5 separate regions of the Homo sapiens genome follow, and all the other regions are linked to region 2. Evidence: promoter capture Hi-C in 16 types of primary human blood cells and fetal thymus (Javierre and others, 2016). All regions are on one chromosome and are shown on one strand. The core of a region is centred on a gene start or on the middle of the fragment in contact, and the rest is flanking DNA. Distances in the headings are between cores, read along the strand shown.

The links. The method cuts DNA at HindIII sites, captures the fragments that hold promoters and counts their contacts. A CHiCAGO score of 5 or more calls a contact.
Region 1: a contact is called between a fragment that was not itself captured here and the fragment with the promoter of NCOA5 in region 2, in 1 of 17 cell types (fetal thymus). The highest score is 5.2, in fetal thymus.
Region 3: a fragment that was not itself captured here is called in contact with the fragment with the promoter of NCOA5 in region 2 in 11 of 17 cell types (fetal thymus, total CD8 T cells, naive CD4 T cells and 8 more); the score reaches 10.4 in fetal thymus.
Region 4: a fragment that was not itself captured here is called in contact with the fragment with the promoter of NCOA5 in region 2 in 3 of 17 cell types (fetal thymus, neutrophils and total CD8 T cells); the score reaches 6.7 in fetal thymus.
Region 5: a fragment that was not itself captured here is called in contact with the fragment with the promoter of NCOA5 in region 2 in 4 of 17 cell types (fetal thymus, neutrophils, monocytes and 1 more); the score reaches 9.4 in fetal thymus.

Annotation. Positions count from the first base shown.
Region 1 is chr20:45,812,254-45,817,949 of GRCh38, reverse strand. It overlaps UBE2C (ubiquitin conjugating enzyme E2 C), which reads right to left and starts at 5,306. Exons shown (of 6, transcript NM_007019.4): 1 at 5,154-5,306; 2 at 4,486-4,513; 3 at 3,480-3,566; 4 at 2,205-2,409; 5 at 2,037-2,096; 6 at 998-1,241. The coding sequence starts at 5,254. The coding sequence ends at 1,183. RefSeq lists a silencer at 5,314-5,503. The HindIII fragment of the contact is 4,695 bases long and covers 1-4,223 here.
Region 2 is chr20:46,086,799-46,092,408 of GRCh38, reverse strand. It overlaps NCOA5 (nuclear receptor coactivator 5), which reads left to right and starts at 2,447. Exons shown (of 8, transcript NM_020967.3): 1 at 2,447-2,592. RefSeq lists enhancers at 2,284-2,333, 2,347-3,160, 3,014-3,223, 3,161-3,975 and a silencer at 2,494-2,843. The HindIII fragment of the contact is 2,710 bases long and covers 1,158-3,867 here.
Region 3 is chr20:45,794,646-45,800,328 of GRCh38, reverse strand. It overlaps DNTTIP1 (deoxynucleotidyltransferase terminal interacting protein 1), which reads right to left. Exons shown (of 13, transcript NM_052951.3): 4 at 4,886-4,984. Among named protein-coding and RNA genes, the nearest start is that of DNTTIP1, 5.5 kb to the right of the region's middle. The HindIII fragment of the contact is 279 bases long and covers 1,427-1,705 here.
Region 4 is chr20:46,397,708-46,402,989 of GRCh38, reverse strand. It overlaps ELMO2 (engulfment and cell motility 2), which reads left to right. Exons shown (of 22, transcript NM_133171.5): 2 at 4,219-4,293. LOC124904917 (a long non-coding RNA gene) reads right to left here. Exons shown (of 3, transcript XR_007067614.1): 3 at 4,971-5,282. Among named protein-coding and RNA genes, the nearest start is that of ELMO2, 6.3 kb to the left of the region's middle. The HindIII fragment of the contact is 6,773 bases long and covers 1-5,226 here.
Region 5 is chr20:46,359,303-46,362,689 of GRCh38, reverse strand. All of the region lies in intron 1 of SLC35H1 (solute carrier family 35 member H1), which reads left to right. Among named protein-coding and RNA genes, the nearest start is that of SLC35H1, 3.4 kb to the left of the region's middle. The HindIII fragment of the contact is 4,951 bases long and covers 1-3,387 here.

The DNA of each region.
Region 1 (5,696 bases), core at 627-3,126, 270 kb after region 2:
TGACATCACTTGGAAACTATTTAGAAACCAAAATAAATAAACAGACTGGATCTTAGGCTCCACTTCACACCTACAGAAAAGAATTTAACAAGATCCCAAGTGTATTTGTATGAATGTTAGATTAAGAAAAAACCCAAGAGGAGAGACCTAAGAGCACAATTATAGACATGAAGGGACCCAACTTCCAATCCCAAACCCCTCCCGCTTCAGGCTTGCACAACCAACCAGCTGCTAACAGACCTGAAGGAGTTGGGTGCAAGGTTGGAGCACATCTGGATGCTGCTTATCTACCTTGGAGATCTTCCTGAAGGGCTTTGTGGGGGCCCTATCACTTCAACCTACTCTTCCACCTGCCGACCCTTGTGGGGACCCAGCTGGTCAGCAGGGGTGTTTCCTCCTAGGGGCTCAAAGACTGGAGCCTTCATCAGGCCAGGGGAAAGAGGCAGCCCAAGGGGCTGGGGGCTCCCTGGGGGATATGCAGCAGGAGGCGACTGTGCCCCCTTGGAGGTGGAGCTCCACCGGGGACCTGGGCTAGAGCCTGGAGACCAGAGCTCAGACCTGAGTCCTGCCAGGGAAGGGGCTTTTTTCCTGGCTGTCTCCCCAGGCCCTGGACCTGCTTAGGGTGACCTAAGCATTCTTCTTCAGGACAGAACATGGGTGGCTGTGTGTTGGGATCCCCCCCCCAACACACACGCTTGTTCCTTCTACAGCTATAGGAGTAGGTTTCAGCCTAAGGTCTGGCTCAGCCTCATCTGCAACACAGCTGAGGGAGCTCCAACATTCACTAACATTGCTGGTACACATCACCGACTCCATAGACAGGAGGCATTATTGTGACACTCATTTTATAGATGAAGAAACAGATGCAGAGTCATAAAATAAGGTACAAGGGAATAAATCTTTGTCACCCCATTGCTTGGCCCCACATCCTTAAGTTCCACCTCTGCCTACCCTGAGTACCTCCAACCCTAGTGAAATTACAACGCAACAACTTGTCTAAAAAAGGACAAAAATGCATTTATTTAATATACAAGGGCTCAACCGAGGCTTAATTTAAAAGACAAAAACAAAACAAAAATACCACAGCTCAAGATAAAGAGTCCTATACAGAAATCACAAAAAGGACAGACCATCTAAGGAAAAATTAAAAAGACGACACAAGGACAGGCTGGGCAGCCTGGGTCAGGGCTCCTGGCTGGTGACCTGCTTTGAGTAGGTTTCTTGCAGGTACTTCTTAAAAGCTGGAAGAGAACAGGCAGGTCTCAGTGAGTGATGGAGACAGGATGAGTTAATCTTTACTATTTATTATTTTTGAGATGGAGTCTCACTCTGTTGACCAAGCTGGAGTGCAATAGCATGATGTCTGCTCACTGCAACCTCTGCTTCCTAGATTCAAGTGATTCTCTTGCCTCAGCCTCCTGAGTAGCTGGGACTACAGGTGCCTACCACCATACCCGGTTAATTTTTTTTGTATTTAGTAGAGACGGGGTTTCACCATGTTGGCCAGGCTGGTCTCAAACTCCTGACCTCATGTGATCCACCCACCTCGGCCTCCCCAAGTGCTAGGATTACAGGCATGAGCCACTGTGCCTGGCCCAGGATGAATTAAGGTGGGCAAGAGGCAGCTGGACCAGGGATGCAAAGGTCGGAGGAGGTGGAGGAGGGGCTGGTTTCCCAGCCCGGCATTCTCCCTGCACTGCCCATCTAGGCAGCTCTCCTGGAAGGGCTTGCTTCCAGTGAGACTGGAGGGCACAGGCAAGGCACTCTACTGAATTCCTGGCCTCAAGCTATCCTCCTGCCTTGGTCTCACCAATAATTTCCCAAAATTATTTATCGCCAAACATTTTTATTCTGCTATAAAACAATTGCTATTTTATAGCAAATAGGAGCACTGGGGCAGAAACAGAAGTGGGTTGCTGCCGACACTCCACCCTGCCCCAACCAACCCGGTCCCAAGTCACTGGGCTCCTTTTGTTTGAGGGAGCCTTTGAAGGTTGGGGGAGGGATCACCCTGGGCTCAAGGACTGAGGACTCACCTGTGGGGTTTTTCCAGAGCTCGGCAGCATGTGTGTTCAAGGGACTATCAATGTTGGGTTCTGTGGGTGGAGAGAAAGAGAAGGTCAAGGCGGTAGAAGAGGCTGACCCCAGGGAGTCCTGACAGGTTCCCAAGTTGCATGGAGGGGAGGGGTGGTCTCTAAAGTCACCTCCTAGAAGGCTCTGGATGGAGAGCAGAATGGTCCTGACATCATACAGGGCAGACCACTTTTCCTTCAGGATGTCCAGGCATATGTTACCCTGGGTGTCCACGTTGGGGTGATAGCAGGGCGTGAGGAACTTCACTGTGGGCGCATTGTAAGGGTAGCCACTGGGGAACTCTAGCGAGAGCTTATACCTCAGGTCTTCATATACCTGGCATTTGGAGAAACAGTTGCAGAGTAAGCTCCAGCAGCAGCCTCATGTCCCAACCCAAGCCCCACACAAGGGGCTTGCTAGAATCTTGAGTTTCTCTGGGACCGGACAGTAGACAAACTGTTGAGCTGGTTCTGATGCTCCCCACTGCCTTTTTAAAAAGTTTTTTTAGTTTAGTTTTTATTTTAGAGACAGGGTTTCACCATGTTGCCCAGGCCAGTCTCAAACTCCTGGGCTCATGTGATCTGCCTGCCTCAGCCTCCCAAAGTGCTGAGATTACAGGTGTGAGCCACTATGCCTAGCCTGATGCTTTCCTCTTATCTGGTGGAGACATCAGTGACTCTTTGGTCTAAGGATTGTAAATTGGCATCCTGTGCTTTAGTTCAATTAGAATATTAGTTGCTGGCCGGGCGTGGTGGCTCACGCCTGTAATCCCAGCACTTTGGGAGGCCGAGGCGGGTGGATCTTGAGGTCAGGAGATCGAGACCATCCTGGCTAACAAGGTGAAACCCCGTCTCTACTAAAAATACAAAAAATTAGCCGGGCGTGGTGGCGGGCGCCTGTAGTCCCAGCTACTCGGAGGCTGAGGCAGGAGAATGGCGTGAACCCGGGAAGCGGAGCTTGCAGTGAGCCGAGATTGCGCCACTGCAGTCCGCAGTCTGGCCTGGGCGACAGAGCGAGACTCCGTCTCAAAAAAAAAAAAAAAAGAATATTAGTTGCTAATACGTAAAAATTAGATTTGGCACAGATTTGGACTTCTGACTCATCTTAAACCTGATCTGCAGCAATGGGAAGCTGCCTTCTTGAGATCTGGCCCTATTGGCCAAAGTCCTCACTTCATCCATTTCCTTGCTGTCTGTCCCCCCATGTAAACATCTAAGATAGGCAGCCCTGCTTTAAACCCACCCTTTATTGCACAGAGGGAAAGAACAAGGCCACATGGCTCAGAGAATGTAAACAGTCACAGGAGGAGTGTCTTGCTCCGCCAAAGGCTTGAAGCAGAGCTCGCACTTGGATCTCACTTCCCACCTTTCCCCAGACTCACTCACCCATCCCAGCCCTACACTTACTGTTCCAGCTGCTCCATGGATGGTCCCTACCCATTTGAAAAGGTTGTCTGATTCAGGGAAGGCAGAAATCCCTTTATCGCCAGACATCTGGGGAGAAAACACATTTGTTGGAATGTGGAGTACACTTTTGGGCATAGCAAAGGTCAGTGGGTGAGCTTTCCCCTTAATTTTATATATATATATATATATATATATATATGCTCACATACACACACACACATATATATGTATACACACACACATATATATGTGTATATATATGAGATATAGATGGGGTTATGCCATCTCTACTAAAAAATATATATTTACATATATATATATATAGAGAGAGAGAGAGAGAGATTGAGAGAGAGAGATAGACAGAGACAGACACACACACACACTCTGTCGCCCAGGCTAGAGTGCAGTGGTGCGCTCGGCTCACCGCAACCTCTGTCTCCACGGTTCAAATGATTCTTGTGCCTCAGCCTCCCGAGTAGCTGAAATTACAGGCATGCACCACCATGCCTGGATAATTTTTGTATTTTTAGTAGAGACAGGGTTTTGCAATGTTGGCCAGGCTGGTCTCGAACTCCTGACCTCAAGTGATCCGCCCACCTTAGCCCCCCAAAGTGTTGGGATTATAAGGTGTGAGCTACCGCGCCCAGCCTCCCCTTAATCTCATCACTCTGATCCAAAATAAAGCAACCAAATTCATAGGCTAGAAATACCAAGAAGGGCGGGGAGTTGGGTGTGGGTAAAGCTTGGTTGGGGCTAGGAAGTAGGGACACACTGGATAGGGAGGGTCTTGTATGACTTCAGGGAAGTGTTCGAGATAACTTCGTGTGGGGGGATGGAATTGGGAGGAGGGACTGCTGGAAGAAATGGTGTAGGTGGGGTGTATGAACTTCTTTCCCAGGAGGGAGCAAATTACATTACCCCTATGTCTAGCAAAAAAGCTGACGGAAAAAAGGAGGCTACTGAAAATTGGATGGAAGGCTGGGGTTCTGGGCACTTAATCACTCACCATGAGGGTCATCAGCTCCTGCTGTAGCCTGAAAAAAGAGTATTCGGGGTTACCTGGGAGTCTGGATGGGCCAGGCCTCCAGACGGTGCATCTTCTCCCACCTGAATCTCAGGGGGAGCCGTCATGGAGGCTCCCCACATCACCAAGGTCAGGCTCAGCTCAGGGTATACTCACCAGATCCACAGGACGATCCTAGCGAGTCCTCACCCTCCCTAATTCCAGACTCCCTCGGGATGATTCTGGCATGTTCTTAATTCCCCAGGCTTTAGCATCTCTTCCTTGCCCGACTCAACTTCTCCCTTCCCCTGTCTCGGCCAAGTCACGAGGGTCCTTGAGCGTCTTCATCTAGGCCCACCAGGGAAGGAGTCTGGCAGCGCCCCTACCCTCCCATTCTCCTTCGGGAGAGTCTCAAAGAGCGGTCTGAGCTCCTGGCCTGTCCCCCATCTCTCGAATCTCACCCGCGCAAGGAGGTGGGAGTCCCGGAAGTCTCCGCCCTCGACACCCATGCCCAGGGGAATGCCAGGCCCCGAGCTCCTGGTGTGTTCTCCTGCACCCGCAGATCTCCCGCTCCAGGAGGTGGCGGCGGGGGGTGGTCCTAGAAATCTTTGCTCTGGGTACCAATGCCTAGGGCATGGCAGGCCCGGCGAGTGGTAGGCCGCATCACTCACCTTTTGCCCACCGGACCCCGGGCGGCGCCCCCGCTCGGCTCAGCTCCTTTACGGGCGGCGGCGACGCTAGTGGCGGCTGGGTCGCGGTTTTGGGAAGCCATCCGGGCGGCGTTGGCAGAGAGACAGGAACTCGGAGAACACGACTGCAACTGCAGGACTGCGGGCCCGCCCGCCCGCGTTTGAATTGTAACCCTCTGGGGGCGTCGACCAATCAATGGCTCGCTTGGGTTTGATCCAGCCAATGAGACGCTCCGGAGCGCTCTATTGCTGCGCCACTGCTAGACCTACCCACTGGCGCACCGCTATTGGGCGGCAGAATCCCGCTTCTGACAACCGATTGGTAGATGATGCTGCCATTAACTAACGAATCCGTAGCGAATTGGTGGCCGTTGGAAAACGCTAACCATTAAAGGGCCAAGAAAACGTCCACGTGGGATGAACCCCTCCTTCTGGCTACACGTCTTACTCCGCGTGGGAACACTCGGCACGCCCAGCCTTGATCCAATTTCCCTCGGGCAGGGAGTGCCTCCAATCCTGCAGCAC
Region 2 (5,610 bases), core at 1,198-3,697:
CTTGAGCTAGACACAGAGTGCTGATTGGTGCACCCACAATCCCTTAGCTAGACACGAAGGTTCTCCAAGTCCCCACTAGACTCAGGAGCCCAGCTGGCCTCACTCAGTGGATCTTCCACTGGGCCGCAGGTGGAGCTGCCCGCCAGTCCCGCACCGTGCACCGGCACTCCTCAGCCCTTGGGCGGTCGATGGGACCAGGCACCTTGGAGCAGGGGGCTGCGCTCGTCAGGAAGGCTCAGGCCGCGCAGGAGCCCGAGGGAGGAGGGTTGGTGGGGCGGAGAGACTCGGGCATGGCTGGCTGCAGGTCCCGAGCCCTGCCCCACGGGGAGGCAGCTAAGGCCCGGTGAGAAATCGAGTGCAGCGCCGGTGGGCCAGCACTGCTGGGGGATCCGGCGCACCCTCCACAGCTGCTGGCCTGGGTGCTAAGTCTCTCACGCCTGGGGCCAGCAGGGCGGGCCGGCCGCTCCGAGTGTGGGGCCCGCCAGGCCCACGCCCACCTGGAACTCTAGCTGGCCCGCAAGCGCCGCGCGCAGCCCCGGTTCCCGCCCGTGCCTCTCCCTCCACACCTCCCCGAAAGCGGAGGGAGCCGGCTCCGGCCTCGGCCAGCCCAGAGAAGGACTTCCATGGTGCAGCGGCGGGCTGAAGGGCTCTTCAAGCGCGGCCAGAATGGGCGCCGAGGCCGAGGAGGCACCGAGAGTGAGCAAGGGCTGTGAGGGCTGCCAGCACGCTGTCACCTCTCAATAGGGTTGTGAGGATTAAATGAGATGATATGTGTAAAGGATTCAGCACATGGTAGGCACACAATAGATGTTACCTATTATGTAAAGCAAACATCTAAATAAGAAGTCACCAAGTCCTGAGCACCTGCCTCCCTACAAGAATCTTTCTTCATAAAATTAACTTGCTCCTCTATCAAAAATACTCATCAAACACTATATATTATCGTTTGTTTATTGCTCATATTCCCTAATAGGCCATGAGCTCCCTAAGCACAAGGATTTTGTCTACCTTACTCTCTACTCTCCACAAAATCAAGTGCATAAAAAACACTCATTAAACACTTAATACACAAGTCACTGAATACATCTTTTGGCTAAAGTCCACTACCCACTTGAGGTACTGCCACTCACCTCTAAACCAACATTTTTCCCTAAGCTTGGTTATCTTAATCATCTAATTAATATGATTCTTCTTAAATTTTCATAGTATTAGGATCTATATTGGAGGGAAAGGAATAAGAATGAACATTTGTTGGGTATCCATTATTTGACAGACTTTATGTCTTCATTTCTAATTTCATACAGTCTTATAAAGTGGGAATTGGAATAACCCACTTTGCCTGTGAGTAAACTAAAGTTCTAGTTACAACCATTGAGAATCCCTATTTCTTTCCATCACAGCGTTTATCTCAGTTTGCAATTACACACTCAAGTGTGATTATTCGTCTAATGCTTTCACCAGACTGTAATCTCAAAGATAGCAGAAAAGGGTCTGCATTTGCTCATAACAGCGCCTAACAAGCAGGCATATAATAAGTATAGGGCTACATAGTAGGTATGTAATAAACATTCAGTGAATAAATGAGTGGAGTGAGCATAGGGGTAGATGTCAAAGAAATCTGGCTTCTTGTAGTGTTTAAATTCCGCAGGCACCATTTTTTCTTAGTAGGCAATATTCGCAAGGAGAAGAACTAGACCCCATGGAGTCTGAGGCGTTTCCAACACTAATAAAAGAGTACCTGATTAATATAGCTATGGCTGTGATTAATAGAGTGCATTTACTATTGTGTGAGCAAATCCCATTCCCTGTGACAAATGTATTCTATACATGAAATGAACAGTACAACATTTTACAGGCTTCACGGTCAACAGTTACATTCCGGGAAATTTTTGACGTTGAACGAATATTCCAAGAATAAATAACTCAAGAAGAACCTGTGACTATATCTCCAGAAACCTTTTGCCGCTTGTCAGTGAAACTAATAGAGTACAGAGCCTATTTAAATGTAAATTTAAATACAACATTTTCTCCACCTTTCTGCTCTCTTTGTTCCTTGTGGTCCGGAGGTTACAGGACTATATATATTCTCCAATACACACGTGTATAGGGATTTGGGGTTTTTGCTTTCAGTTTTATGCAAGACTAAATCAAGGTATTTGGGGATTTGAATGTTCTGTTCCCACAGTTAGGGAGGAGGGAATGTGCTCTGAAAACAGAAAAAAAGTACTCTGGGGCGGGGGCTGAGGCGACCACCGTGGGGCCCATCCTCAGCCTAGGACGCTGTTGCTAGGCAACTCCCTGCGTTCTCAACTCCCGCCCGAGAGCCACTTCCCGGGCCCTCATTGCCAAGGAGATCGACGCCCCAACTCAGCCCTGCCGTAAACACGCGCGGTCTTGCGACAGTGCCGCGCCTGCCGCTACGTGCGCGCCCTCTGCCCCCATCTCCACTCTCCGCCCGGCCGCCATTGCCTCGTGCCCGCGCCGGTCGGTTGGTGGCGCCTTTGTCCTACGGCGGGCAGGTGGGCCGACGCGGAGGCGGCAGCGGCGGGCCTGAGGCGAAGGAGCGGCCGGGAGCCCGCCGCGCTGGTAGCGGTGAGTGCCGGGAAGCGCTGGCCGTCAGCCGAGGCGTGGGGCTGACGGGCAGGCCGTTGTGGGGGGCCTGGCCGGACGGGGAGGCTGAGGCGGGAAGGCCCACTCGACGCGCGGCCACGGTCTCGGCTCCTCTCCGGGTGCGCGCGGTGCTGCGCATGCCCGGTGCGGGGCGCGGCCGCCTCCGGCTCCCGTCAGGCCCAGGCCCGGCCGGCCGAGGCGGCCTACGGTTCTCTGTGGTGGACGCAGGTCGGCGGCGTCGCATCGCAGCCGCCTGTCTGTGCACGAACGGTCGGTCACTAGGAGTCCTCAAGGCTTCTCTGGTTGAGCCGCACATCCCGCACCCCCTGTCGAAACGGTGGAGTCGCTCGCCCGCGGGTCCTCAGCGAGTCAGTGGCGCAGTCGGGATTCGAACCGGGCCCAAGGCGTCCCGTGGCACCGGGCGTTCTCCAGGCGTGCAGCGCCGAGCGGTGTACTGAGCGCTGTCCCCCGCCACCGTCTCGCGGCCCCTGACCGCATTCTCGGGGTGTCTCCTTGTGGTGTGACACCCCACGCGTTTTGTAGGCGCGGACCTCGGGCCCAGAGAACGGGGAGAGGAACTGTTCCCGGGTTTACCACGTAGCTCAGCGCCAGCGTCCGATCCGGCCGGCTTTCCAAGCTCCCGGCGCGGGGCACTGTCCGCTCCCCGCCAGCGGGCGAGGGGCTTCTCTTAGGACGGCGTTGCACACGTTTCAGTCTCGCGTTGCACCTTTATGTCCGTGGACCATCTGTACTGCTATTTACCAAATGTTACATTTTTTAAAAAATTCAAACTGACTCTTTTTTTCTCCTTAAATATATTTAAGGCGGCAACTTCAATCACAAACCGGGTACTGGAAAGCCAGTTATTTTTCTAATGCTTATAAAAAAAATAAATATCTGTCTGTTGAAATAAACAGTGCGTCCTTGTTCCTCCTGAAATTATTCTGCGTTCCACACTTTGGGAAACGCTGCCCGAGGAGTAGCTGATTAATTGTGGTTCTTCTGGCTTGCACTCTGTGCACAGAATTTTTCCTGAGGCAAAGCAGATTCTATGAATGCCCTGGGCTCTTCAGGGATAATGTAACAGCTTTCTTGTAAACTGTTCTCTTTGTTGACTTAAAAGTGTTAGTCCCAGGGAACTGCAAGAACTGTGTTCACTCAGGTGCACCCGGTGTGCCTGAATTTTCTTACAGCGTTGTGATGTCGTAGCCCCCTGTTGGCTCATAAAAAGATGTTTCTACAAATGCTGGGGAAGCTTTTGTGAGTTTTGACAACTCTTAATTTAATGTTTTCTCTATGAGTCAGTCTGGGTGTGAAAACTAACTTTGTGTCTACTTTTTGCAACCAGTAAAGCCCATGCTTTGCATTGTGGATATTAGAAATCACTTGGCTATTTGTTAACATCCATTTCTTCCTTTATTGTGATTTCTTTGCCTTTCTTTGAGCTCATCTGTCACTCTTCAGATTGCCTTTGAAACCTCTGACACTTCTCTTAACCTAAAACTTAGAAACACTGATTTTCCTTGTAGAATGTCCCAGCGAATCCATATTGCAAGGCTCATTGGAAGGAGTTTTTCTAGATTCAGTTTGCTCAATGTTGCATACCTGTGAACACCACAAGTTTAAAGGAGGCATTGACAGATTAACTTACTTGTAAGTTAATAGTGTGTTCATAAGATCTGTTTATGTGAATGTAAGAGCAGATTTAATTTAAATCATTGACAGGAAAGTCCCATAAGTCAGTTCAGGCTTATTCAAGTTTTCTTCCCCTCCCCTCAAAGGCTGTGTAAAAAAATATATATATATGTATATGTATATATATGTGTGTGTGTGTATGTATCTCTCCCCCTGTTAAAAACATGTTTCTTTGGGGTTACCTTGGTATGATCACAATGTAGAATTTACGTAAGGCTAAGGTCATTTTCTTCACATTTCTGAGAATTTGATTTAAGCCCGGCGTCCGTTTCAGAACTTCAGCAAATGGAAACTCATCTACCAGTGCTTGAGAGCTAAGAAAAAACAACTTGTTTGTTTTGGTTTTGTTTTTGTTTTTTCTGAGACAGAGCTTCACTCTTGTTGCCCAGGCTGGAGTGCAGTGGTGCGATCTTGGCCCCCGGGTTCAAGCAATTCTCCTGCCTCAGTCTCCTAAGTAGCTGGGATTACAGGCGTGCGCCACCACGCCCGGCTAATTTTGTATATTTTTAGTGGAGACGGGGTTTCTCCATGTTGGTCAGGCTAGTCTCGAACTCCCAACCTCAGGTGATCTGCCCGCCTCTGCCTCCGAAAGTGCTGGGATTACAGGCATGAGCCACCGCGTCCAACCAGAATAAACAATTTTTGGAAAGACTTTCGTAGTCTGATGAGAAAAGATTTATTGGTTTGAAACTTCATTTTAAATAATCATTGCAAGCAGTCCATGTTTATGACCTGCAGATGGCAGTGCCTTTGTGTAATGTTTTACTACTGTGAGGATTAATAAAATTTAGTTGTGCTTTTAAGAATGGAAAATCTTCACAAGAAATATATTAAACTTTTTCTTCCCTTCAGTTTAGGTTGTTCTCTTGTTTTTGACTCCCCACGTGAAGAATGAAACGTCTATTCCTGAAGTCACTGTTACTCTTAGTGTAGTAATGATAATAACATACAGCCAGTAGTGCATATGGTAAATACTAAATCATTGCTCCTGCCCGTCATCTTATGAGACTGATAAACTAGTTTGATCTTTTTTATTTATAGGGAAATGATGACTCAAAGAGGTTAGATTTCTTGCCCCAGATCACATAATTAGTAGAACATATTCAAGACATCATTGGAGATAATTGATTTCAGGGTCAAGCAAAATTGGGAAATGTTGAGATATAGTGGTGTCCTTACTCCAAAACTTCTCAGAGGCATTTATGTGCTAAATATGTGCAATGTCAATATCTGAGAGAGGAAGTTATCATGATGCCTTTCTCCTGCTATCCTCTCATGAATATTTTGAAGTAATAGTGTTCCTCA
Region 3 (5,683 bases), core at 317-2,816, 290 kb after region 2:
TGATCATGGCTGGAAAAATTAAAAAATGTAAAAAAGCAAAATAAGAAAAACCTGGAATCTCATTACATAAACTACTATTAATGTTTCAATGTAAATTCTTCCTTGCTTTTCCCATGTAAATACATACTGTATGTTTTTTCAAACTAAATACATTAGTATAACACATACTCCTCAGTAAGCTGCTGTTTTTCTTTTTTCTTTTTTTTTTTGACATGGAATCTTGCTCTGTTGCCCAGACTGGAGTACAGTGGTGCGATCTCGGCTGTCTGCAATCTCCGCCTCCCAGGTTCAAGCAATTCTCCTGCCTCTGCCTCCTGAGTAGCTGGGATTACAGGCGTGCAACCACACCCAGCTAATTTTTTTTTTTTTTTTTTTTGGTATTTTTAGTAGAGATGGGGTTTTATCACGTTGGCTAGGCTAGTCTCACACTTCTGACCTCGTGATCTGCCCGCCTCAGCCTCCCAAAGTGTTGGGATTACAGGCGTGAGCCAGTGCGCCTGGCCTGCTGTTTTTCTTTTAATAAATACTGAGTACCTGGGACCTAAGTGCTGTGGACACAGCAGTAACTAGGACAAGCTCTTGTGGAGCTTATAGTTTGTGGGTGATCTGGATAATAAGCACAGAAACAAACAAGGTAACTGTGGATCATGATAGATGCTGTGAGAAAAAAAGAAAAAAACCCAGGCAGATGTGACAGAGAACCACCAGAGGGGAAGGGCTACTTTGCGGGAATGGCCAGGGAAGGCCTTGCTCAGAAGGTGGCCTCTGAGTTGAGATGTGAAGGAGGCTGTAAAAAAAGCTGGGCAGAAGTGTTTCAGCAGCAGGGAGGAGTGCAGAAGCTCAAAGGTGGGAACACCTGGCTCATTTGACAAAGAAAAGGATGGAATGGGCAGAGGGGAGATGGTGCAGCAGGTGGAGAATTGGGTTCACCCGACCTCTGCCAGTGGCATTTGACAGTGCTGAGGGCTCCCCCTTCTGGAAACACTCTTTTCTACAGGCTCCTGTGGCCACACTTCCTGTGTTCCTTCTACTTCTCTGGCCGTTCTTTCTTAGCCTTCTTTGCTGGCTTTTCCTTCTCAATCTGGTTCTTTTCCCTATCCTCTCTCATTACATATTCTATCTGCTCTCACCTATTCTCACAGCTTCAATTAACATCTATAAACCACGATTCCATAATTCAACTGTAGACAAAAGGTTATCCTCTGAGCTCTAGACTTATATACCAAATAGTCTGCCCCATGTCTATGCTTGGATGGCTCAAAGCTGCTAATCCATAATTGGATTCATGCTCTTCTCCTCCAAACTTTGTCCCTTTCCAGTGAAGGGTGATCAAGTCTCAATGTGTAATTATGCACACATTTGTTGGTAATCTAATTCACACCTGTCTGCTTAAGTAGGCTGTTAAGTTCTATTAGAGCAGGAAGCTTGTTTGTTCATTTATCATTTGTTTGTTCCTTCATTTACTCAATAATTCAGCAAACTCTGTACACATACTAAGAGTCATATTCCAGGGCTGGGAATACAGTGGTGAACAAGATTAGGCCTCAACTCTTGTAAAGCTCAAGATTTTAGCAGAGGTAGGAGTGCGAGGGGAAGACCTCTCTGATATTTAAACTAAGATCTGAAGAAAAGAAGGAGCCGGCTTTATAGAGTTAAGGGTAGAGTACCCCAGGTACTAAGAACAGCAAGTGAAATGGCCTAAGCTTGTGCTGGAGGAGCAGAAAGGAGTTCAGAACAGCCAGAGTATAGTCAATAAAAAAGAGGTGAGATGAAATGAAGTTAAAGAAGCAGGCAGAAGCCAGTCGAGGGTAGGCTCTGTGGGTCATGGTAAGGCATTTTTTTTTAAATTATACTTTAAGTTTTAGGGTACATGTGCACAACATGCAGGTTTGTTACATATGTATACATGTGCCTTGTTGGTGTGCTGCACCCAGTAACTCGTCATTTAACATTAGGTATATCTCCTAATGCTATCCCTCCCCCCTCCCCCAACCCCACGACAGGCCCCGGTGTCTGATGTTCCCTTTCCTGTGTCCATGTGTTCTCATTGTTCAATTCCCACCCATGAGTGAGAACATGCGGTGTTTGGTTTTTTGTCCTTGTGATAGTTTGCTGAGAATGATGGTTTCCAGCTTCATCCATGTCCCTAAAAAGGACATGAACTCATCACTTTTTATGGCTGCATAGTATTCCATGGTATATATGTGCCACATTTTCTTAATCCAGTCTATCATTGTTGGACATTTGGGTTGGTTCCAAGTCTTTGCTATTGTGAATAGTGCCACAATAAACATATGTGTGCATGTGTCTTTATAGCAGCATGATTTATATTCCTTTGGGTATATACCCAGTAATGGGATGGCTGGGTCAAATGGTATTTCTAGTTCTAGATCCCTGAGGAATCGCCACACTGACTTCCACAATGGTTGAACTAGTTTACGGTCCCACCAACAGTGTAAAAGTGTTCCTATTTCTCCACATCCTCTCCAGCACCTGTTGTTTCCTGACTTTTTAATGATCACCATTCTAACTGGTGTAAGATGGTATCTCATTGTGGTTTTGATTTGCATTTCTCTGATGGCCAGTGATGATGAGCATTTTTTCATGTGTCTTTTGGCTGCATAAATGTCTTCTTTTGAGGAGTGTCTGTTCATGTCCTTTGGCCACTTGTTGATGGGGTTGCTTGTTTTTTTCTTGTAAATTTGTTAGAGTTCATTGTAGATTCTGGGTATTAGCCCTTTGTCAGATGAGTAGATTGCAAAAATTTTCTCCCATTCTGTAGGTTGCCTGTTCACTCTGATGGTCATTTCTTTTGCTGTGCAGAAGCTCTTTAGTTTAATTAGATCCCATTTGTCAATTTTGGCTTTTGTTGCCATTCCTTTTGGTGTTTTAGTCATGAAGTCCTTGCCCATGCCTATGTCCTGAATGGTATTGCCTAGGTTTTCTTCTAGGGTTTTTATGGTTTTAGGTCTAACATTTAAGTCTTTAATCCATCTTGAATTAATTTTTGTATAAGGTGTAAGGAAGGGATCCAGTTTCGGCTTTCTACATATGGCTAGCCAGTTTTCCCAGCAGGATCATGGTAAGGCATTAAGACTTTATTCTCCCTGCAACAGGAAAGTCACTGAAGGGTTTTTAAAATGGGGAGTGACATGATCTAATTCATCTTTACGGAGATCAGTCTGGCTGCTGTGAGAAGAGTGGATTGGAACTGGGTAACGGTGAATGTAACTCTGGACTGAGATATAAATGTGTGAATTATGAGCGGCTGAATTGGCTTCCAAGCCACAGGACTAGATGAAAACACCTATGAAAACAGTGAGCCATGAAAGAGAAGGGGTTTGAGGACTGAACTTGGGAAGGCACCAACAGTTAGAGGCGGGGGGTGAGAGAGAAGAGTAGGCAATGAGGTTGGAGCAAAGTCAAGGCACTCTAGCCAACAGAGGAGCATTCCAAGAAACGCGAAATGATCCATTGTGACAGATGTCACTGAGAAGCTGAGTAAGTTGAGGACAGTTAGGGACCAGAGGGTTTGACAACACGGAAGTTACTAGCGACCCCGACAAGAGGGGTTCCAGTGAAGTAGTGGGGACTGAAGCGAAAACAAAGTGAAGAGAATGAATAGGAGGTGAGAAAGTGAGCCAGCGACTATTGGCGACCTTTCCTGATGTCTCCCTATAAAATGGTGATGGCAACAATTCCTCCTAATAACAGCAGCTGACACATGTAAACAGGTTCTCTACTATCTTGGGAACAGTCATTTATAGACCTGATGTCATGCTTCCTGACCACACCAGAGAGGCAGGGAGGCAGCAGGGTGCTCATCCCCATGATACCAAATGGGGCCATGATAACTTGATCCACCACGCACCTGCAGGGGTGAGACAGATCTTAGCTATTCTAATTATTATGTGTCTTAAGCCATTTCTTTTTTTTTTTTTGCTTTGCTTTTAAAAATTTTTTTCTAGCTCTATTGATGTATAATTGATAAACAGAAATGGTATATATTCAAGGTGTACAATGTGATGAATTGACATAGATATACATAGTGAAATGATTACCACAATGAAATCAATCAACACATCCACCACTACCATTTTGTGTGTGGACACTTAAGATCTATGGTCTTAGCAAATTTCAAGTAAACAATAGAGATAAACTATAGTCATCATGCTGTACATCAGATTGCCCAGAACTTGTTCATCTTATAACTAAAAGTTTGTACCCTTTGATTAACATCCCCCCACTTCTCCCCTCCAGCTACTGCCATTCTACTCTCTGCTTCTATGAGTTTGCTAAGTCACAATTTCTTCATCTATAAAATAGTAATTAAAAGATATCTTCTGTACATAGTTTCTTCTGAGACATAAAAAAAAATAATGCATTTATCCTGGTACCTGACATATAGTAGCTACTTCCCTTCCTTTCCCTGTCAGCAACAGCCTCAAGCCTATCTCAATATGTGGCTTGCTGGGCATTCCCCAAAATACCACTGATGACAAGATCACATTTCTTTTTTTGTTTGTTTTTGAGACAGAATCTTGCTCTTTCACCCAGGCTGGAGTGTAGTGGTGCCATCTCGGCTCACCGCAACCTCTGTCTCCCAGGTTCAAGCGATTCTCGTGCCTATGGCTCCCAAGCAGCTAGGATTATAGGCGTGCACCACCATGCCCAGCTAATTTTCGTATTGTTTGTAGAGATGGGGTTTAGCCACGTTGCCCAAGCTGGTCTCAAACTCCTGGCCTTGAGTGATCTGCCCACCTTGGCCTCCCACAGTGCTGGGATTACATGTGTGAGCCACCACGTCCGGCTTAAGATCGCATTTCTTATCAGAGGCTCGAGAGCTAAACCTTGTGCCTGCATCTCTTGTCCCCTTTGGTCTCACCTGCTCCAGGCAGCTCCGACAGGCTTCCTGGATCAGCTGCTCTGCGTCCACCTCCTCCCCAACATTGTCTCGCACGTTCAGTGCTGCCTTCTGGAAGAACTAGGGGAGCACAACAGAGGACAAGGTCAGAGTCCTGTTAATGTGCATCAACCTGAAGGAAACTGAATATAAAATAAGTCTTTATCCTAGCTTCATACAGAAGGGAAAAGTGATTATGAGCAGGGCTTTGGGATCAGCCAGATTTAGATTCACATTTCAGGCTTGACCTCCTCCCTTTATTCCCCCTCTTACGGATATAATCGTGGGGGTGCCCAACAGATTGAGGTGTAAATAGTGCAAAAAATCAGGACGGGCGCGGTGGCTCACACCTGTAATCCCAGCACTTTGCGAGGCCGAGGTGGGCGGATCACGAGGTCAGGAGATCGAGACCATCCTGGCTAACACGGTGAAACCCCGTCTCTACTAAAAATACAAAAAATTAGCTGGGCGTGGTGGCGGATGCCTGTAATCCCAGCTACTTGGGAGGCTGGGGCAGAGAACTGCTTGAACCCAGGAGGCGGAGGTTGCAGTGAGCCAAGACCGTGCCACTGCACTCCAGCCTGGCGACAGAGTGAGACTCTGTCTCAAAAAAAAAAAAAAAAATTTTTTTTTTTTTTTAGTAGAGATGAGGTCCCACTGTGTTGCCCAGGCTGTTCTCAAACTCCTGGCCTCAAGTGATCCTGCCTCGGCCTCCCAAAGTGCTGGGGTTGCAGGTGTGAGCCACTGTGCATGGCCCCAATAATGGTTATATTATTAAAC
Region 4 (5,282 bases), core at 591-3,090, 310 kb before region 2:
TAGTGCTAAGATCCAAGTTCAGGCCTTTCCCACTCCAGAACACAGCTCCTAACTTGTTAAGCTACACTTCCTCACTAGAAGGCCAAAGTTGGAAGAAAGCTCAAAAACATCTAGTCCAGCCCCCGATGTAGATCAGGACCTGAGGTCCAGAAAGGCTTGTGTTTGTGGCAAAGCTGTGCTGCAGGAGGAGGACTAAACCAGAAGTGGGGGCCTAGGCCTTCTTTTGTCCCTAACTGGTGGCATGGCCTTGCCAGCTTCTCTGGACTTCAGTTCCCTTATTTATGTAATGAAAGGGCTTGGCCTGATTTTACACTGAGAACAATGCTGTGCTGTTATGGTCAGTATTGAAGGAGTTCACAGCCCGAGATTTTAGTTGTAACCCAGGACTCTTCCCAGCACACCACACTCCCTCCCTACCCAAGCTCCATCTCCTTGTGCAATCACGGTTTTCTAAAGTTTAATTCTGAAGTTCATCTGTATTTTCCATCTCAGTTTCTGTTTCCTCTCATTTCCAAAAACTGAGGTAAGTGGTTTGTAAACACTGACTTTTTGTAAATTCATCTCTTCAGTCATTGTGGTTAGGGATTTGGAAAGTTCTAGGCAATTAATAATCCTCAGTCAGTAGTGTTTTCACTCTCTTCTGAAGGCATTTAGGTCTGGAGGCACCCTGGAGGGAATTTTCCTGTGGAATTCTGTGGACACAGCTATGTGGCAGGCAGTGTGCTGCAAACTGGGGGAAGAGTAGATGGGGGAATAGACTTAGGCTTCATGAGTCCTTGCCCTCAGGTTGTCAACTCTCCTGGAGCTGTGGGTCAACCCTGAGCATCTGAGAGTTTATAAATGACCTGGGGTGTGTGTTGATGGTGCACAACCAGAGTTGAGAACCACTGTTTCTCGGACCTTATCTGATCTAGAGCCTATGTCCCAGACTTGAACATGCACTTGAACCACCTCAGGATCTTGTTTGAAGGCAGATTCTGATTGGGTGGGTCTGGGCTCCCAGGGATACTGCCGCTGCTGGTATGCACATCACACCTATCGTAGCCAGGGAAGAGACTGCACATAGAGAATTATAAATCAGTAGGATCAGGAAGGTATGTACAGAAGACTGGGATCACAGATGAGGCTGCAATTAATTTTCCCTGAGGTGAGAGGATTAGGAAAGCCACATAGAAGAGTGATTATCTTAGCTGGGCCTTGAAGGTTGAGTTGAAGTTTGCCAGCTGGACAAGGAAGAGGAAATAATAGCACAAGCAAACATACAGACTCAGAAGAGCATGGTTTTTCAGGGAACAGGTGGTCTGGTGAGAACATGGCATCTGCAAAAGCGAATCTGAAAGCCAGTTCCACCACAGAGCCACGGTGGAACTGGAGTAAGTTGAATGCTCTGCTAAGGAGCTTACTTAAGCACTATTCTTTAAGTATAGGAACACTACAGAAGGTGTCTGTGCAGGATAAGAGAAGACCCAGGCCATTCTTACAGCAGGAATCAAGATGAAGAAACCCAAATAGTTCCCCTGCCCCCACACCCCTTCTCACCACACCTTTGCCTCTATGTAAGTTTGTGGCTTTTTACCATGTGTGAATGAGTCCTGTGTCTAACATACTTCAACAAAAAGGGGAAACCTCAGCTGCTGTTGGTATGGTGGTCCTTCCCAGGGCTTCCAGCAGTAAACATAAGAACCTTAATCTCTGCCAGTCAAATCCTCCCTTTTCTGTACCTCAGAGTCTGATCGTCATTCAGTGGACTGAACTAAGGGAAGTTGAATCACTTCTCAGATGAGAAGATTTCAGAGGGGGAAGCCTTTATAGAGATTGTGTTCTCGATTAGAAAGGGCGTGACTCCAACTTGCCTTCTTGATGAGGTTGCATTCTGTTGCAGGAAACATAAACCAAACTTACCCATGCCTCCTTCACCAAATCAAAAGCCAAATAACTGAACAAAAAGTACACATCCGTTCTTATCCTGAAAGGAATAGGGGGAAGGAGGGGAGCTGGAAACCTGGCATTCTTCATCCCAAATTCCTTACTAATAGGAGGAGATCATCTTTCACTTCATTCCTTAAGATTCGGTTTCCAATCCTGCTCTCAGAATCCAGCTCCGTGAAGCAGCAGTCACTGCATGGGTGATTGATAAAGCTCCATGGGGCTTCTGTAACAGTGCTGATTTTATAAGCACACCTTCTAGAAGCCACTTAGAGACTGCTCCATTGGAGACACTAATGTTCCTATTTTTCTCTACTTTTCCCAGCTCTGTGTTTGAAAAACTGGCCTTTCATTCTTATGACTTATAGTAAAATTGTCATCAGGTCAGTGTGTGCCTGTCTCCTGTTTTGTAGCATTTTGAGTTTTCCAAATCATCCTTATATCTGTAATGCTTAAAGAGGAGTGGAAGGTAGAAGGGTGGGGAGTTGTTTAATCCGGAAGGGGCCCTCTGGGCCTGGATATGGAACTACAGCTCCCTTATGCTGGTGGTTTGCAATTGAGCTACAGTACTGCTGAGTGGCGGAGCAAGAGGCTATTTATAACCCTGAGAATTTTGCAATGTTACTGAATTCCTTTGACCTAATTTCTACTTCCTTTCTAGAATGAAAATGAAGGGAGTAAGCAAACACGTGCTGGAAGGGTTCCCTATAAGGAGATCCTTTATCCTGGGAATATTATCTGGAGAACAGAATTATTTCTAGTCTCCTATCTCCTGATGTTTCTTTTCGATAGGGAGAAAAGCAGAGGGAGGTTTTCCTCTTTCTTTCAACTAGAGTTAGGGGTGCTAACCCTGATTTTTCAGTAAGACTTATTCTAATGTTTGATATGAAAACAACAGTTTTTTATTTTATTTTTATTTTTTAATAGAGACAGGATCTCACTTTGTCACCCAGGCTAGAGTTCAGTGACATGATCATAGTTCACTGCAGCCTCGAACTCCTGGGCTCAAGCAACTCTCCTGCCTCAGCCTCCTGAGTAGCTAGGGACTACAGGCACACGCCACCATGCCCAGCTAATTTTTATTTTTTGTAGAGAAATGTCTCGAACTCCTGGCCTGAAGTGATCCTCCTGCCTTGACCTCCCAAAGCATTGGGATTACAGGTGTGAGCCACTGCGCCCAGCCAAAACAAACTGTTAAACAATGGAAATACTGTGTAGTTAGAGGGTATTGGGACGCAGAGGGAACACCAGACAGCCTGCACAGTTCATGCCTGTCCCTGTCTGTTTGGAGCCAGCCTGGTTCACAGGAGTGGAAGAAATCAGAGCCATTGGGTTTAAGCAGACACAGGTGCTTACTGAGCCTTCACTGGACACCAAGTGCTGTGCTAGGTTATGAGACTGCAGAGTTATACCTGTTCTGGAGGAGGAGCTAGTGGAGATGTGTAAATATGTAACTGTAATAGAGTATGACAAAATCGTACTCATTAACGGAAGTATGAACAGGATGCTGTGAGAACACAGAGGCCCCTGTCCTATTTACTTTTGCCAGGGAAAGTAGAGAAAGCTAAGACTAGTACAAGGAGGAGGTAACATCCGAACTAGGCTCTGATGCTTGAATAGGAGCTCTTCTGACAGTCAGTAGGAGGAAGAGAATGTGCAAAGGTACAGAAGAATTGAAAGAACATGGCCTGCCTTATAGAAATAGCCCGTAGTCCAGGATGGCTAGATTGTAAAGGACCAAATAGCACACGAGGGAGTGTGGCCCACCTGTAGACAGTGGAGAGCTGTCTTCTGTTACAATGGTGAGTTCTTGCTGTGAAGGTTTCTTAGCCTCAGTGTGCTTTGGTTTCAGATACACAAACCAGAAATCTCCACAAAGCACCTGCTGCGGGTCAGGTGCAGAGCCACCTGCTTTCTCATGGCTTTCCAGCAACACCAGACAACCTGGTATCAAATTCTGGCTGTGCCACTTGCTAGCTATGTGACACTGAGCCTTCTACTTAACTCCTCTGTGCCTCCATTTTCTTATCTCTAAGGTGGGGATAATAACATACCACACAGCATTGCTGTGTGGATTAAATGAATTAATATATGTAAAGCCCTTAAAATAGTGCCTTAGCATTATGTAATTGCTAGCTAATGTCATCATCTAAGGAAGTATTATATAGAGCGATGAGAACTCGCTTTGGAGTCCTAAGACCTAGGCTTGAGACCCAGTTCTGATGTGTTGGGTTGATTTAGTTTTATTTCTTTTCCCTCCCTTCATTTTTTTTCTTTCCTTCCTTCTTTTAGGAGGGAGGTGTAGAAAGAGGTACATGGAGAACAAGTTTGTCAATCCGTCTGAACTTCAGTTGCCTTACCTGTAAGGTAGGAATGTTTTTCAGAGTTCTTATGAGCATCAACTATAATAATGATATAGAAGTGAGCAATCAACTATAAAGAGGCTACCTGGGCTGGGCACAGTGGCTCACGCCTGTAATCCCAGCACTTTGAGAGGCCGAGGCAGATGGATCACCTGAGGTCAGGAGTTCAAGACCAGCCTGGCCAACATGGTGAAACCCCGTCTCTACTAAAAATACAAAAATTAGCTGGGCGTGGTGGTGAGTATCTGTAATTCCAGCTACTCAGGAAGCTGAGGCAGGAGAATCGCTTGAACCCAGGAGACAGAGGTTGAAGTGAGCTGAAATCATGCCATTGCACTTCAGCCTAGGCGACAAGAGCAAGACTCCATCTTTTAAAAAAAATTTAAAAAAATAAAAATAAAGAGGCTACCTGTACGTTACTACTAGATATATGATTACTATGAAGTTACCATATAACCGATCTGTTTCAAACAAATCAGACTTATCTAGTGGGTAAGAGCAAACCCATGGGTTTTGCTCTCATTAATTCAGCCATTGTTAATTAAGTGCTTACCCAGTACCATCATCATATGCTAGTGATGCTGCTGTCTGCTCAGACCTCCGTTTTAGAGTTCCTGCAGAGCTTGGGGGCAGCTGTGGTCTTAGGCGTATTAGTTGCAATGAGTAGAAACATAGACTAGCTTAATTTATAGGAGTTTTATTGGCAGGATACAGTGGACTTTCAGGTACCCCGAGCATAGGAAGTAATAGCCACATAATCTGGAAAGTTAGCAGGTAATGGCTTTTCCATCTCTTTCTGATTTCTGGCCTCAGTTCATTTAGATATTTATGGATTCCTCCTGCAGAATCACTTCCTCTGAAAGGCTCTTGGTTTTTTATTCTCCATATCTTTGGCTCGTACGGATCTTTGGCTTGCCATGGTATTCGCTCTGAAGCTTACTATGATCTTACTTCTCCAGGGTCATTATCACCCAGTTCCCTTAGTCTGTGTCT
Region 5 (3,387 bases), core at 673-3,172, 270 kb before region 2:
CAGGGGGTGAAGGAGTTGGACTGGCAGTGCGGGGTCCTCTGGGGAAGTTTCACTGTTAAGGGGACCAGGAGGGGAGTAAGCCTCTACCATGAGCCAGCATTTAATGCTGTACCTGATGCCACTTTACAGTTGGAGAAACTGAGTCCAGAGGTCAAGTAACTTAGGGTCACACAGTAGTGAGTAGGGACACCAGGATTTGATTCTCAGTGTCTAACTCCAAAGCCCACACTCTTAAGCACTAAACCATGCTGCCCAAGTTACAGTTAGGAAGATGGAGGGAAGCAGGTGTGCCAGTGATGCACCAGCCAGCCTTACCTTGATGTGACTGCTGCCCCCAGCTAAGCTGCTCTCTGTGGAAAGTGGGGCAGAATATGGACTTTCCTTCCTGAGCAAATGAGATTTCAAAAAGAGTTGTTTACTCCTTTAAATCTTGTTTCCCTTATAAAATAAGGGTGGGGACCTTTTCAGTTTCACGTCTGTGTCTCCAGTGGTGGGCCTACAGGAGTGCTTGATAAATGCTCATTAAGTGCCTAGATGATCTCCAGGGACCCTTCTAGCTGAGATTTGGCTTTGTGTTTGGGCATAGGTGACCTTCTGAATCCCAATAAGAAAATAAGTTAAATTTGAGACAGTGCTTCTTGTAGGCGGGGTAGCCATAGGGACTTATTGGAGGCAGGGGAACTGGGCCAGGTCTGTGAAGGAAGGTCAGCATTTGAACAGTGGAGGGAGGGTGTTGCGGTGTTGCAGTGCTGCAGCAGGAAATGCAGCAAAAGCAGGAGCTGCAAGAAGTTGGTTAACAGAAGAGTGAACAGACTTCCCTGGCTTGGAAGCCACAGGAGGAGCCATGAGGGAAGAGTGCTCAGAAGAAAGCTCTGTTAGTGCCAGCATGTCCTGTGAGTGCCTGTCACAGGACAGGGTCAGCAGTGGTTCTCAACAGGGAGCAGGTTTGATCCTCAGGTGACATATGGCAGTGTCTAGAGACATTTCTTGGGTATCACAACTTGGGATGGGGGGAAGGATGTGACAGGTGTCTGGTGGGTATGGGCCAGGGATGTTGCTAAACATCCTGCCATGTAGAGGATGGGTCTTCTCACAAAGAATTATCTGTCCCCAAACAGCAGTAACGCCCAGGTTGAGAAACCCTGGCGTAGAGGAAACAGTGTGGGTTTTGAGATCTGTAGACGTATGTTTGAGGCCCATGCGCCCTCTTTGTTGGAGGAGCCTGATGGTGGTGGTTGCAGGAGAAGTAGAGAGAACCGTGTAGGAGACTCCTGCAGTCATTTGGGGAGAGGATGGTGGCTGAGATGGTAGTGGTGGAGTTCAGGACATGTGCTCATATTTGGGATATTTCTGAAGATAGAGCTGACGGTATTTATTGATTGAATGTGGGCTAAGGGGAAGAGAGGAATCAGATGAGCCTAAGGCTTTTGGCCTGAGCAACTAGGAGAGTAGTGGAGCCATTTGCTGGGATGGGAAGTAGGAAGAGGAGCAGGCTTGGATGAAATGGGGGTGTGGAAAACACGAGTCAGTTTCAGACACTCTAGATGTGAGTGAGATGCCTGATATTAGATATCTAAGGGAAGAAGAGGTTAGGTAGGCATTGGATATTCTTCTGGAGTTCACATGAATCAGAGCCGGGGCATATATTGGGAAGACATCAGCTTACAGAAGGCATTTGAAGGAATGAGAATGCATTAGGTCAGGTAGGAGTCTCAACTCATTGGATCTGACACCTCTTTTTTATTACAAATATTTTGTAACAGTCCCTTTTATTACCCTAAAATGAAACATATGATTAATAAAAACTGCCTACACATAATTTTTTAAAAATCAACAAATGCAGCCGGGCGCGGTGGCTCACGCCTGTAATCCCAGCACTTTGGGAGGCAAGGCGGGCGGATCACCTGAGGTTGGGAGTTCAAGACCAGCCTGACCAACATGGAGAAACCCCATCTCTACTAAAAATATAAAAAATTAGCCGGGTGTGGTGGTGCATGCCTGTAATCAGTCCCAGCTACTAGGGAGCCTGAGGCAGGAGAATCGCTTGAACCTGGGAGGCGGAGCTTGTGGTGAGCCGAGATTATACCATTGCACTCCAGCCTGGGCAACAGGAGCGAAACTTCGTCTCAAAAAAAAAATAAAATAAAATATAAATAACCATGCCCTATAACATAAAAGGAAAGTAATTGATAGTAAAACAAAATATGTTTCAATATGTAAGTTTCTGGGCACAATAGTGCTGGAAGTTGCAGTGAAGCTGTCCCTTCTGTGTGGACCCTCTAGGAGTGTGATGGCCACAGACACAGACTGACACAGCCGTGTTGTGTCGCACCTCGAAAACCACTAGTGCCATTGCTGTAGATGATGTGGTTTTTCCAGAATGGACACTTTTGGTGCCATTTTGAGACCAATTTTGACCATTTTCAGTCTCCCTTCATTGTACATAGGCGTCTTATTCTTGGAAGTGTTAGTTCACAGCAGAACCATGGAAACACTGCACTGTGTTTACATGTAAACAGAGTTACATTCTAGGTTCAGATAATTATAAGCTAATCTTTCACCTATATGGATGTCAAAGTCGTGCGGGATGCAGAGCAGTAATTGGCTATGTGGACTGCCCCTTCTTTATCCCTGCTTACTGAACGCCAGGAGCATATCCCCAAAATACCGCCACAGGTTTCCAAAGCTCCTCTGAAGACAACTGTAGCCCCAGAGATTCATTTGGACACAGCCAGCTCCCTGTTTGCCCCGGGGAGGGGAAATAGTAACAAGAGTTCCAGAGTGCAGAATGGAATGTAACTGCTCCCTTCAGAAATGTTGGGGTGGGAGATGGAGAATGTGTCTGATCGTGAAGCCTAGGAAGGCTTCGAGAAGAAGGTGGCGTTTCAATAGGATGGGAATGTCTCAAAGGAGGATCTGTGGTTGAGGGGGGCACCCAGATGAAGCAGCAGGTATCATCACATAACACTGGACCTGAGGCTCCTCCAGGCACAGACAGGTCTACCCGGCATGCTCCGGGCACTCATCAGGGTTGGCTGGATTGACAGGGAGGCTGGGAGTGGTTTCATTTGGCAATACCGTAAGGCAGGCTCTGCTTCCAGGGAGTAGTGGTTACAGCCTGGTCTTACAGTGTTCCAGCCGTTAGAGTGTTGGTTTCCTTCTCCATTTTTAACCCCTAAAGACCAGACCAGTCCCCTGAAAATCGCATGCCTGCTCTCTGTCAGTCATCAAACCAGACGGAGAACTTAAAGTACACCAGCTGTGCGTAAGGCCAGTGTGGTCTTACTGGTCCCTATCTTTGTGCCGCTCGTAGCCTCTCAGGGGACAGACATTACTCAAATCACACCCTGCACAAGTGCTATGAAAGAGAAGTAGGAGAGCCGTGAA